Regions from separate parts of the Homo sapiens genome. Here all the other regions are linked to region 1. The links are contacts of gene promoters, found by promoter capture Hi-C in blood cells and fetal thymus (Javierre and others, 2016). All regions are on one chromosome and are shown on one strand. Each heading gives the region's core, a stretch centred on a gene start or on the middle of the fragment in contact. The rest is flanking DNA. Distances are from core to core; before and after follow the strand shown. Region 1 holds the start of ZAR1L (zygote arrest 1 like). Region 2 has its middle 95 kb from the start of RFC3. Region 3 has its middle 220 kb from the start of LINC02344. Region 4 has its middle 200 kb from the start of LINC02344.

Evidence for each region. Contacts are between HindIII fragments. The CHiCAGO score rates a contact against its expected background, and 5 or more counts as called.
Region 2: a contact is called between a fragment that was not itself captured here and the fragment with the promoter of ZAR1L in region 1, in 1 of 17 cell types (non-activated CD4 T cells). The highest score is 5.3, in non-activated CD4 T cells.
Region 3: a contact is called between a fragment that was not itself captured here and the fragment with the promoter of ZAR1L in region 1, in 4 of 17 cell types (total B cells, non-activated CD4 T cells, naive CD8 T cells and 1 more). The highest score is 9.3, in total B cells.
Region 4: a fragment that was not itself captured here is called in contact with the fragment with the promoter of ZAR1L in region 1 in 7 of 17 cell types (naive CD8 T cells, total CD4 T cells, non-activated CD4 T cells and 4 more); the score reaches 12.9 in naive CD8 T cells.

What each region holds. Positions count from the first base shown.
Region 1 is chr13:32,313,740-32,316,612 of GRCh38, reverse strand. It overlaps ZAR1L (zygote arrest 1 like), which reads left to right and starts at 1,250. Exons shown (of 6, transcript NM_001136571.2): 1 at 1,250-1,298; 2 at 2,063-2,283. BRCA2 (BRCA2 DNA repair associated) reads right to left here and starts at 1,105. Exons shown (of 27, transcript NM_000059.4): 1 at 946-1,105; 2 at 86-191. The coding sequence starts at 152. RefSeq lists an enhancer at 446-715, a promoter at 824-1,320, a cis regulatory region at 1,649-1,715 and a silencer at 1,834-2,054. The HindIII fragment of the contact is 7,545 bases long and covers 1-1,526 here.
Region 2 is chr13:33,722,120-33,724,992 of GRCh38, reverse strand. No RefSeq gene overlaps it. Among named protein-coding and RNA genes, the nearest start is that of RFC3, 95 kb to the left of the region's middle. RefSeq lists a silencer at 879-1,048. The HindIII fragment of the contact is 499 bases long and covers 1,162-1,660 here.
Region 3 is chr13:33,549,476-33,552,348 of GRCh38, reverse strand. It overlaps a transcript of STARD13 not described here. Among named protein-coding and RNA genes, the nearest start is that of LINC02344, 220 kb to the right of the region's middle. The HindIII fragment of the contact is 1,229 bases long and covers 796-2,024 here.
Region 4 is chr13:33,531,362-33,534,234 of GRCh38, reverse strand. It overlaps a transcript of STARD13 not described here. Among named protein-coding and RNA genes, the nearest start is that of LINC02344, 200 kb to the right of the region's middle. The HindIII fragment of the contact is 7,063 bases long and covers 1-2,873 here.

The sequences.
Region 1 (2,873 bases), core at 1-2,500:
TGTGACGTACTGGGTTTTTAGCAAGCATTTTTTAGAAAACACTTTCTCGGTGTAATTTATAAAGTTATATAAAATTTGTCAATACCTGCTTTGTTGCAGCGTGTCTTAAAAATTTCAAAAAATGTTGGCCTCTCTTTGGATCCAATAGGCATTTTTACCTACGATATTCCTCCAATGCTTGGTAAATAAGTCTGCAAAACAGAAGACCAAAATGCACTTACACAGGGATGCATTCCTTATTATGTGACTGAGGTAAAACTCAGAAGCGCTGGAAAATTTGTTTGAATTCTAATTCAGTCCCATCTCCTGGAACGGTAACAGCTTACTGTGAGGATGGGAACATTTTACAGCTGTGCTGTCCAAACCGGTGCCACTAGCCACATTAAGCACTCGAAACGTGGCTAGTGCGACTAGAGAAGAGGATTTTCATACGATTTAGTTTCAATCACGCTAACCAGTGACGCGTGGCTAGTGGGGACAGAGGGCTCCAGTTAGAGACCAACGCCGCCTGGTAATTCCCATCAGCATGTCTTCGGAATACAGCAATTACCAGGGGCTTAAGTAAGGCAAATACAGCGTGCCCAGCAGCTGTAAAACACTTCCCCAAAACAGCAATATTCCGTTAAAGTGATCGTGTTTCCAAGAAATTTCAGATGGCGTCATCTGGGACAGCTGGGAGGGAAGTTAAGTCTTGAGCTGAAGGCGGAGCCCAAAGGCCGGGCCGGAGGCGGGAAATGGAGACCCAGGGAAGGGGCGGGGCTCGAATTTGCTTGGCGAAAATCTGCCTTCGGGCAAGGACCTTTCTCTCAGGCATGGGTGGGGGTTGGCAGAGACAAAAGGGCAAGAAGCCGCGGCAGCGACCCGGGGCGTGAGGCGCTCCCCCGCCACGCTGGACTGGGACTGCGGAAGACGCGCTCGTCCCAACCCACTACCACCACCACTAACCCGCTCCAGAGGTGCAGTTCTTTTTTGGCCGGAGTAAGCTGACAAAAACCGCGCCGGTCACAAATCTGTCCCCTCACGCTTCTCCCGGCGGCGACCCACCGCCGCAAAAGACACCCGAGGCGCAGCAGAGGCGCAGCAGTGCCACAGCGGCTCCGCCTCTGCCGCCTAGTTTCAGAAGCTCGCGCCACAAGCCCGCGCTGGCCACGTGACGCCGTGACGCGACACGCAGCACACGCACCACCCGGAAGTCAGGCCTGGGTGGGCCGCTGCGGGTATTTCTCAGTGTGGCGAAAGGAAATTCCTTGTCAGGCATCCCAACCGTCAGTATCTGACCGAATAAAGCGGGAGCTGGAGTGTGTGTTCTCTTCTCGCTGACCCTTAAGAGTCCCAGGCCACCCTGCTTGGAGGGGCCGCCCCTATGCCTACTCCAAGTCCCCCATCCCTTTCTTTTTGCTCCAGCTCATGTTTGGGTGGGCGCCCTCGGGACACGACCTGGGACCTATGAAATACCTTTGTTCTGACCTTAAAAGGGATGTTCTCTCAAGACCTGTTCCCCAAAGCGAGCCGATCTTACAAAAGCTTAGAGTGGTCGGTGTGTGGTTGTGGATGACTTCACTTAGTGGTAGTGGGCGGGGCTGTTATTTGAAATCAGAGGATTTTAGTTCCAGTAGCTGTTCTGCTATTGGGTAGCAGGTGTTCAAGACCTCCGAGCCCGTTTCCTTGCTTGAAAAATTGTGAAACCCATCTTAACTCGCTCATGAAGTGTGAGGTACCTTGCTCCGCAGGGCTTGGTAGTATCTTTTGCTTTTTTTTTTGAGACGGAGTTTCGCTCTTGTGGCCCGGGCTGGTGTGCAATGGCGCAATCTCCGCTCACCGCAACTTCCGCCTCCAGGGATCAAGTGGTTCTCCTGCCTCAGCCTCCCGAGTAGCTGGGAATACAGGCATGGGCCACCACGCACGGCTAACTTTGCATTTTTAAGTAGAGACGGGGTTTCTCCGTTGTTGGTCAGTCTGGTCTCAACCTCCCGACCTCAGGTGATCTGCCTGCCTCGGCCTCCCAAAGCGCTGGGATTACAGGCATGAGCCACCACACCCGGCCCATCTTTTGCATTCTTAGGATTCGGATCACCTGTCTTCCTCGCAGGCTGAACTGGAAGACCTGACTTCATCTCCGAATTCGTTGGTTCTGTAACATGCCTAATACAAGGCTGAATAGGGTTTGTTGTAAGACCTACAAAACCTTCAAATGGATTCAGTGAGAGTTGCTCCCATGGGGGCCTTGCTGCTTCCAGAAGGTGCTTGAGCAGTAAACAGAAGCAACCTTGGATTAGGAAAAGGGTGGGCTCCGCTTGGTTCCTTAGGGACCATTTTAGTTTGATAATCAGTAATCCTTAGTTGTAGAAGGAGGCCTTACTAATGCAGATAGATTCTAAAGCTTTTGCTCTAAGTCTAATTCGCAAAGAAATACGTCTGTGATCCTTACTAATAACAGCTGCCACTTACCAAACATTTTATGAGTTAGGCATTCTGCTTTGGGTTTTCAAGCAATACCATGTTTAATCTTACAGTAATCCTGTAAATTGGTCAGTATTGTCAGATGAGGATACTGAATCAAGTAGTTAAGTAATGTGCCTGGTAGTAAGGCCCAGGTTTGAATTCTAGTCCATTTGACTTCATACACTTAACTAACCTGTGATTTATTTACCCTATAAATCAGAACAATATGCTTTGTCCCCTTTTTGTGGGGGAGGGGTGTCTCACTAGGAGTGGACTAATGAGAACCCGTGGCATGTCACACAAGTCTCAGAAATAACATTTTCTGTCATTTTATACAGCCCCCCATACCTTTATGTTTCTTGTTCTCTTTGTACCAGGGACTTGCAACTTATTAGCTCCACCATAATAGACTTTCTCACCTATTCTCTTCT
Region 2 (2,873 bases), core at 162-2,661, 1.4 Mb before region 1:
CAGCCCCAGCAAGGCCCCGAATGCCTGGTTTGCTACTTTCTAATCCTGTAACTTCTCTTCCCATAATAATGTGTAGCTTGTAAGGCCTTAGCTCAATTTTCCAGATGATTTCAGAGACAAAGAATTGCTGATTTGTTACACTAATCTTGACATTTCAAATTACAACTGGAAATAATCTTCCTTAATTAGTCATGTTCTTTCTGTTGAAAATATCAGACATTTGACATATTTGTTTAGCAAATATGTCGATTTTCTGGTCTTTATGGTCTTTCAGTCCCATGTTGATATTCACATATTAAATTTTTAGCTTGCTCCACAGCAAAGATGCAAATATATATGTGCATATGTATATTATATATGTACACATATAGTATATGAATCTACAACCATGCTTGGGGAATACAAGGTATAATATGAATATTATATATATATTCATATATATCTATATATATTTATATATGTGAATCTACAACTATACTTGGGGAAAACAAAGACTTTATCCAGGCTCACCCAGAATGGTTATGAGAAAGTGAAACATTCTTTTCTTCCCTTAATAGGCAAATACATAGTTTAAAAGCTACCTCCCCAAATATGGGAGAATCTTTAGAGAAAGTGTTAAATCACAATAGCATTAAATGTACATTTACTATCAAGTCTTTTGCAATAAAAGCTGACATTAACTTTTTCTCTACAATATTTACTATAGCACTGTGCTTACCCAGGCTTTTATTAATATATGTTTATTTCTGCATTTCCATTTCTCAGCTACCTTTTATATTTTAAAAATTACAGAATTTATAGAAGAAAATTGTAGGCTGATAACAAACAAAAAGGTTTTTCGAAATGGCTAGCATTTGCTCCCAGCAGGGAAAGTAAAGGAATAGTTGCTGTATCCTGAGCCACCCATCCCGGCCCAAGTCTTTGTCCTGCTGAAGTGGTAAATTCTCCCAGAAACGCAACACAAGGTGGTGCTGTTGTATTTATCCTAAACCAGCTGCCAGCCTGGCCACTTAGGCTGTCGGTTTGATCTGAAAGTGGTAGGTGTGTACCAAAGGCATGGGTTTTGCATATGTAGATGTTTACAGTGTAGTCCTCCTTTCAGATAAGAAAAGATAAATAGAAGAAGGAGGAAGAGAGTAAGTTTCTCCACACATGGAAGCTTCTGGAGAAACTGTCTTAAAAAAAAAGAAAGTGCATGGGTTCCTTTTGTTACTAAATTATAGGAGCATGGAAAGTTAGGGCTAGAAGAGATAAAACATTATCTAGCCCATCTTCCTATCTTCAGAGAGGATTTCATTTATAAATTATCAGCCAGTTAAACTTTTTCTTTTGGTTTTAAAATTTTCCAGGGAGGGAGATGCCACTTGCTCCCCCAGCAAATCAATACTCCCTAGTGTTGGGAAATTGTTGTGGACATATGTGCACTTCCTCTTGTTCTGAATCCAGAGGGTATGGGAAGGATTTGATCAGCAGATGTGCCTAGTGAATGAGAAGCACACAAAAAAAAAATGAATTACAAGTCAGGGCTCTGGATTCCTCTCCCTCACTTGCTTAGCTGGGACAAGGTGGGCCTCAGATTTTGCATCTGGAAAACAAAGAGATTGGACTAACATCAGTGGGTTTCCACAAATGGCTGGATCTCAAAATCACCGGGGAAGCTTTTTAAAAAAATACAGATTCCAGGGCCTTGCCTATAAATTTGCTCAGTCAGAAAATCTAGGGCAGGGCCCAGAAATTGCACTTAAAAAAAAATCCAAAAGAACTGTTTTCCTTGGAAAACATTTTTCTTGTCTGAAGACATGGAAATTAGCTAAAAATGTGTAGGCAGGCAGCCCAGCACAGATCTAATGACTGGTGCATAGGTACCACTAGATTAAATAACTCTTAAATCCCATCTGATTTTATGATTTTCCAGGTATCCTTAAAACAAAAGCCCTTGAAAAATAGAAGTGAATTATCCCAGATCTAAAGAATTTCCTCTTGAATCATATTCCCAAGCCTTTGAGTAATCTGCAGTATGGATTTACAGCAAGATGTTTTCTAAATTTTTCAAGCACATGAAATTGGGAAGTCCAGGAATATTATTATAGTAAAGAAAATCCAATAAAGTCCTTGTGTTCAGTCCAATGCCTACACGCTATTCTATTTTCTGGTTACTGTAACTATGAATTAGTTGACAGTTATGAAAATAGTATTTGGACTCTTTCACTTTCATTTTTATAAAACTGGAAAGTTAAAAAACTAGTCAAGTACTTGGCCCATGTATAAATAGATAAGTCACATACTGGCAAATTGAGCTGTATAAAAGTTACTTACACAGACAAAAATGTCTCTAAAGTCTCTATGTAAAACGTTGGCTTTCTGACTCTGAGACTGTCTAGTATCAATGTGAAATTCAGTAACAATGCAATTCAGATTCTTATACCTCAAATGTCTCATTTGAAAGAATCAGATAATTGAAGTATCATTTGTTTATTCTCGTTTATAGTATCAAGGTAAATAATTCTGCCTTCCATTTCCCCTTGCTAATGTAATGTGACCTCAATGTTACATGTTACTAAGTAAATCAATTAGGAGATTTGGCCTGTGTATGTGACTCTTGCAAATGGGTAATTACACCATCAAATAGAAACTTATACACTCTTTGCAAGCCAGTCTTGAAGTCACTTCCAAATAGTTGGTTCTCATTATTTGTACTTTAAGAGCCATTTACAGGTCTAATTAAATTGTTTCTCAGGAATATAAAGATCAATGTTTCCAACCTCATGAATTGAATATATAAAAGAATGCATGAGGCCCAAATTAGCATTTCGTTTATTAAAATAAGTCAGTGTTGGAGCTGAAATCCATTAAATGACTTTAAGTAATCTGTC
Region 3 (2,873 bases), core at 161-2,660, 1.2 Mb before region 1:
TGCTTGTGAGGAATGTCTATTCTGCTTTTGTTTGGTGGATAGAGTTGGTGGATCAGTAGTCTGCTGATCGTGTTGTGTAAGTGTTAAGTGATACAAAACATATCCTTGCTAATTTTGTATCTAGTTGTTCATCAATTATCGAGATTGGGGTGTTGAAGTCTCCAATTATTATTGTCTATATCTCTCTTTAGTTCTGTGATTTATTGCTCCATGTACTTGGGGAAATCTGAGGTATATATATAACTTTTCTATTTTCCTGTTGAATTAACCCCCTTATCATTATGAAATGTACTCTTTGTCTCAAGTATTTTATTTATTTTTGTCTCAAAGTGTATTTTGTCTAATATTAGTGTATTCACTGCAGGTCTTTAATGGTTACTGTTTGTATGATATATCATTTTCCATCCTTTTAACTTTCAGACTAAATTTTTGAATCTAAAGTCTGTCTCATGGCAACCTGTGGTGGCTCATGCCTATAATCCCAGCACTTTGGGAGGCCAAGGTGAGTGGATCACCTGAGGTCAGGAGCTCAAGACCAGCCTGGCCAACATGGTGAAACCCTGCCTCTATCAATAATACAAAAATGAGCCAGTATGGTGGTGGGCACCTGTAATCCCAGCTACTTAGGAGGATAAGGCAGGAGAATCACTTGAATCCAGGAGGTGGAGGTTGCTTGGAGCCAAGATCCCAACACTGTACTCCAGCCTGGCTGACAGAGTGAGACTCCAACTCAAAAAAAAAAAAAAAAAAAAAAAAAAAAAAAAAAAAAAAAAAAAAAAGGGAAAAGCAAAAGCTTGTCTCTTGTAGACAGAAGATAGTTGGATCTTGCTTTTCAAAATCCAGCCTGACAATCTCTGCCTTTTGGTTGGAGTATTTAATCTATTTACTCATAATGAAATTACATCTTAACCATCCCTAATCTGAAAATCCAAAACTGAAATTCCCCCAAATCCAAAACTTTTTGAGTGCTGACACGAAGTCACAAGTTGAAAATTCCACACCTGACCTCATATGATGGATCACAGTCAAAATGCAGATACACAACACACAGTTTACTTAATGTCTCCAAAGAGACCCTCCCAGCCCCCTTCAGCTGTGAAGTATCTTTTCCACACATGCCCCAGACTTCGTCATGCAGGCACATCCACAAAGGGTAATAAAATGGCACATGTCAGGCAAGACACACCAATGGCGGGTTGCCTGTGATGCCCTACATGAGGCCAAGACCTACATGCCTTACTCATTATGTTGTTTTGTTTTGCTTATTCTCTTCTCTGTGGTATAAAGGTATTGTGGAAAATGTAGAAAGATCTGCAGATACCCTTATGAGTAACAGTAGTAAAGAAAAGAGGAAGCATTTATACTTATCTATAGCACAGAAAGTCAAGCTGTTGAAGAAACTGGATGGTGGTATAAGTGGAAAATGTCTTATAGAAGAGTATAGTGTTGGAGTGACCACCATGTATGACCTGAAGAAAGAGAAGGATACATTGTTGGAAGTTCTATGCTGAAAGTGATGAACAGAAGTTAATGAAAAATAGAAAAGCAATGCATGGAGTGAAATATGAAGTCCTTGAATATGTATTGAAAGAATGGAACCATCAGTGTCACAGTGAATACATGCCACTTAATGGTATGCTGAACATGAAACTTGCAAAGATCTATCACGATGAACTGAAAATTGAAGGGAACTGTGAACATTCAACAGGCTAGTTGCATAAATTTAAGAAAAAGCACAGCGTTAAGGTTTTGAAGATTTGTACCATTTCCTGATCATGAAGCAAGGGAGATATTCACTGATGAGGTTACTAAGGTCATCACTGATGAAAATCTGATACCAGGACAGGTCTGTAATGCTGATGAAACATCACTGTTTCGGCATTATTGCACCAGAAAAACACTGACTACAGCTGGTGAGACAGCTTCAATAGGAATTAAGGATGCTAAGGACAGAATAACTGTTCTGGGATGTGCTAATGCAGCACGCATGCATAAAGAAAACCTTGCTATGATAGACAAAAGCTTATATCCTTGTTGTTTTCAAGGAGTAAATTTCTTTCCAGTAAATTATTATGCTAACAAAAAGGCATAGAGAATTAGGGATATCTTTTCTGATTGGTTTCACAAACATTTGGTACTAGTGGCTCTTGCTTGCTGTAGGGAATCTAGACTGAATGATTAACGACTGCAAGATTTTGGCACTGCTTGATAAGGATTCTGCTCATCATCCAGCAGAAATTCTCATTAAAAATGTTTAGGTCATGTATTTTACCCTAATTGTGACTTCATTAATTCATCCATGTGACTAGGGTGTTCTTGGATCAATAAAGAATAAATATAAAAAGTTTCTTGATCAGCATGCTAGCAACAGTGAACAGAGGCATGAGTGTGGAAAGTTTTCAAAAGGAGTTTAGCACGAAGAATGCCCATGTTTGGAATACAGTGACAAATACACAGTTGTGCATGCCTGGCACAACCTCTGGGCTATAACTATGTTCAGTGATGGTGATGAACAAAGTGGTGACTTTGAAGGTTTCTATATGTCACATGAGAAAAAAAATAATGTCTGACCTCCATACATATACAAAAAAATACACCTTCAGAGTCTGGCAGTAAGATGGAAGAAACAGATGTCATGTAAGTTTTTACCAGCAATAATGCGGCTCTAATTATTCATTCATTGATCCATGGGGAAATAGCCAAAATGGTTCTTAATCAAGGTGATTATGATAATAGTGATGATGAAGATGATGTTAACACCGTAGAAAAAGTGCCTATAGATGACATGGTGAAAATGTGTGATGGGCTTATTGAAGGACTACAGCAGTTTATTTAGTATCCCCAAATGGGTTAAAACATGGATTTTTAGATTT
Region 4 (2,873 bases), core at 104-2,603, 1.2 Mb before region 1:
TTATGGTAGGAGACTCTAGGACATAAAATAGACATTCTATTGATGAGAAATCTGAGAGTATAGAAAAAGTGAAAAGTACACCCAGCTAACAAAAAGAGTGATTTCAGGGTTGCTAGTAGGCTTTCCTTGCTTGCCCCAGAGCATTCCTATTGTGATACCATCACTCCACTTATCTCTACTTATTGATCAGTTGTCAGTTACTTTTGAAAAGTCCTAAGCACAACGTTCTGACCAGAATTCTGATGAACATAAAGTAAGTATAAGATATGTCCTTCATTTCTAGGAACTTTGAGAGTAATTGAAGAAAAGAGACACATTCATGTAATGGAAAACACCTTCTGATGATGTGTGCTGTGAGAGCAGAGAAGAGCATAATTAACACTCAGCATTTGTTAAGGGCTGAACATGTGCCTAGAGCTTTATATCCAGTCCTCACAGTCATGATCAGAGTGGCTGGGGAAGTCTCCATGGAAGAGGTGCTCAGGTGTTTGAAAGTTTTATTGACATCAAATACAAGGAAATTGTAAGCAAAGGCTTTGGTTTAAATTTGCATGTGATCTTACCATGTACTTCCTAGCCTTTTTCAGTTTATATAAGCATAAATCCACTTACTTACCAGATGTAATAATTTTATTGAATGGAAACAACTTGATAGGGTGAACAAAAAAAAAAGAGCTTTGTTTTTTCTTTCTGTTGTTCCTTCAAATATGTGCAAGGAATATTTCTTCTCTACTTTGAATGATTTATCAGGTGGGTGCCATAGTATTTCCAATCATTTTAAAATAAAACATCCTCTGGTTACCTTTTGGCACAAGAACAGTTTCATTTAAATATTCAGAACTTTCAGACCATTTATAATCACATAGCTTCATAATCTTACCTAATTTAAAGCTGCTTCCCACTGCTGAGACCTGCTATGGGCAGAAAGGCCTGTGGGGGTTGGCTTCTCTTTTGTTTTCATATCTTGCTCTATTGCTCCTCACCCAGTCTGCTACCTACAGTGTCTCATCCTCCAGGGTCTTACTAGGTAGAAAGGACTGGGGGAAAAGACCCAGGTTTACATGGTCACTACTCTGACAATCTGGAACTGGCATTCTTGGGGCTTTGATTGACACTAAAAGTACCTCTTTATGTTCCTCTGCCTGGAATCTCCAGTGACACAATTCTCGGATTGGCCTTTCTCCCACTGGCCACTTAGGACTTAAGCCAACATTTAGCCATGGGTGACTGATATGTTTGCCTCACCTGGGTTCTTTCTGTTGGGGTCCCATTGTCCCAGCCCCTTTGGAAAAATTTTGTGGCTGATTTCTTCACCTGGAAGGTGCCCATCTGGTCCACAAGAACCACTTGTACTTCCTTGACCCAGTTTTGTGTGGAAATACAGTAATCATCTTACAAGACCACTGCTACCCTTTGGATTCCTCATGTCGGAATCAGACACCAGGTATGAATCAGATTAGTTCATAATTACTTGAGATATAAATAAACAATTGCTCAGAAGTACAACTTTTTTATACCCAAATGACATAAATTTCTCTCCTGTTTTCATGAAAGGAATTTTGTACACACAGTATCCCAGGTATATTAATAGCATACAAGTAAAAGTCAAAGCATTACAACTTTGACAAAAATAAACAGAATGTTTTCAGACTTCAAGATAGAAAAATTTCTTACAAGCACAGCCATAAAGGAAGAAAACTAAATCCAGGGACCAGAAGAAATGCTAAAAATTATTATTCAAGAAAACTTTCCTGAAATAAAAAAGATTAGAAGTTACATATTGAGAGAGTTCTCCATACACCTAAAAAGATCAACCCAGAATTATAATATCAAGACACTCTACCACAATTACTGGGTTTTAATTTTTTAAAAATCCTTTGACTATTTAGAGGGGAAAAGAGCACATGATTTATAAGAGATCATAATTAGATAAACTTCAGTTTTTTTCATTAGCAATACATTAGGCTAAAAGAAAATAAGGTAACATAATTAAGATTCTCAAGGGAAAAAAGTATGTGCCAAGCACTTTGTGTCCAGAAAAACTTACTTTGTAGCAAAAAGGGCACAATGACTATGAGATCTTCCTGAAGAGCCTGCTAGAAAATGAGCTTCAGGTAACAGGTGAGCAGAACGACAGCCTATAGACTGTGCTGAGCTGCAATAGAGACTTCGTAGGAGAACTAAGACTAAATGAAGGCTAAGAGGAAGAGAAAATAGTATATAATCACTAAAAAGATGGGGACGGGGGGACAGCACATGCAAAACCTTTTACAGTGTTTTCAGTACTTCTGTTGGTGGTAGCATTAGGATTGTTATTTTGAGACTATTAAGTGTATAATATGAGATAAAAAACAAATGAGTAATTATGGAATATTATAATTCTGTCATAGTCTGTGTCCTTGAGAACCAAGATTCTCAGTTTGGAAGAAAAAAGATACAGATGTAATAGATTAGAGACTAAGTAAAAGTCCTGTAGTCTTACATTCAAACTGGAAGTATTGGATATGAACTCATGAGGTTTCTCTCTCTCACCACTCTCTTCTCTCCCTTTCTATCTCTATGTCTGTTGAAAACACCTAGAAACAATGACCAACACAGTGGTAATGACTGTCCCTATTGCTTGGATTGTGTTCTTGAAATAATTCCTTATTTAAAGAAACCAGGTCTTCTAGGAGAAACTTCTATTTCTAGGCTTAAGGAAGGAAATGTACAAGACAAACAGCTTGACATACCATGGCAAAGTAGCTATCAAACACTACCAGGGTCTCAGAAACCAAATTGACAAGGCACCCACTAGCTAAGGACAGAATAATTTGAATGGCATTCACAAGAATAATTGCAATGGATTGAAACTTGTCAAATATATTTAAATA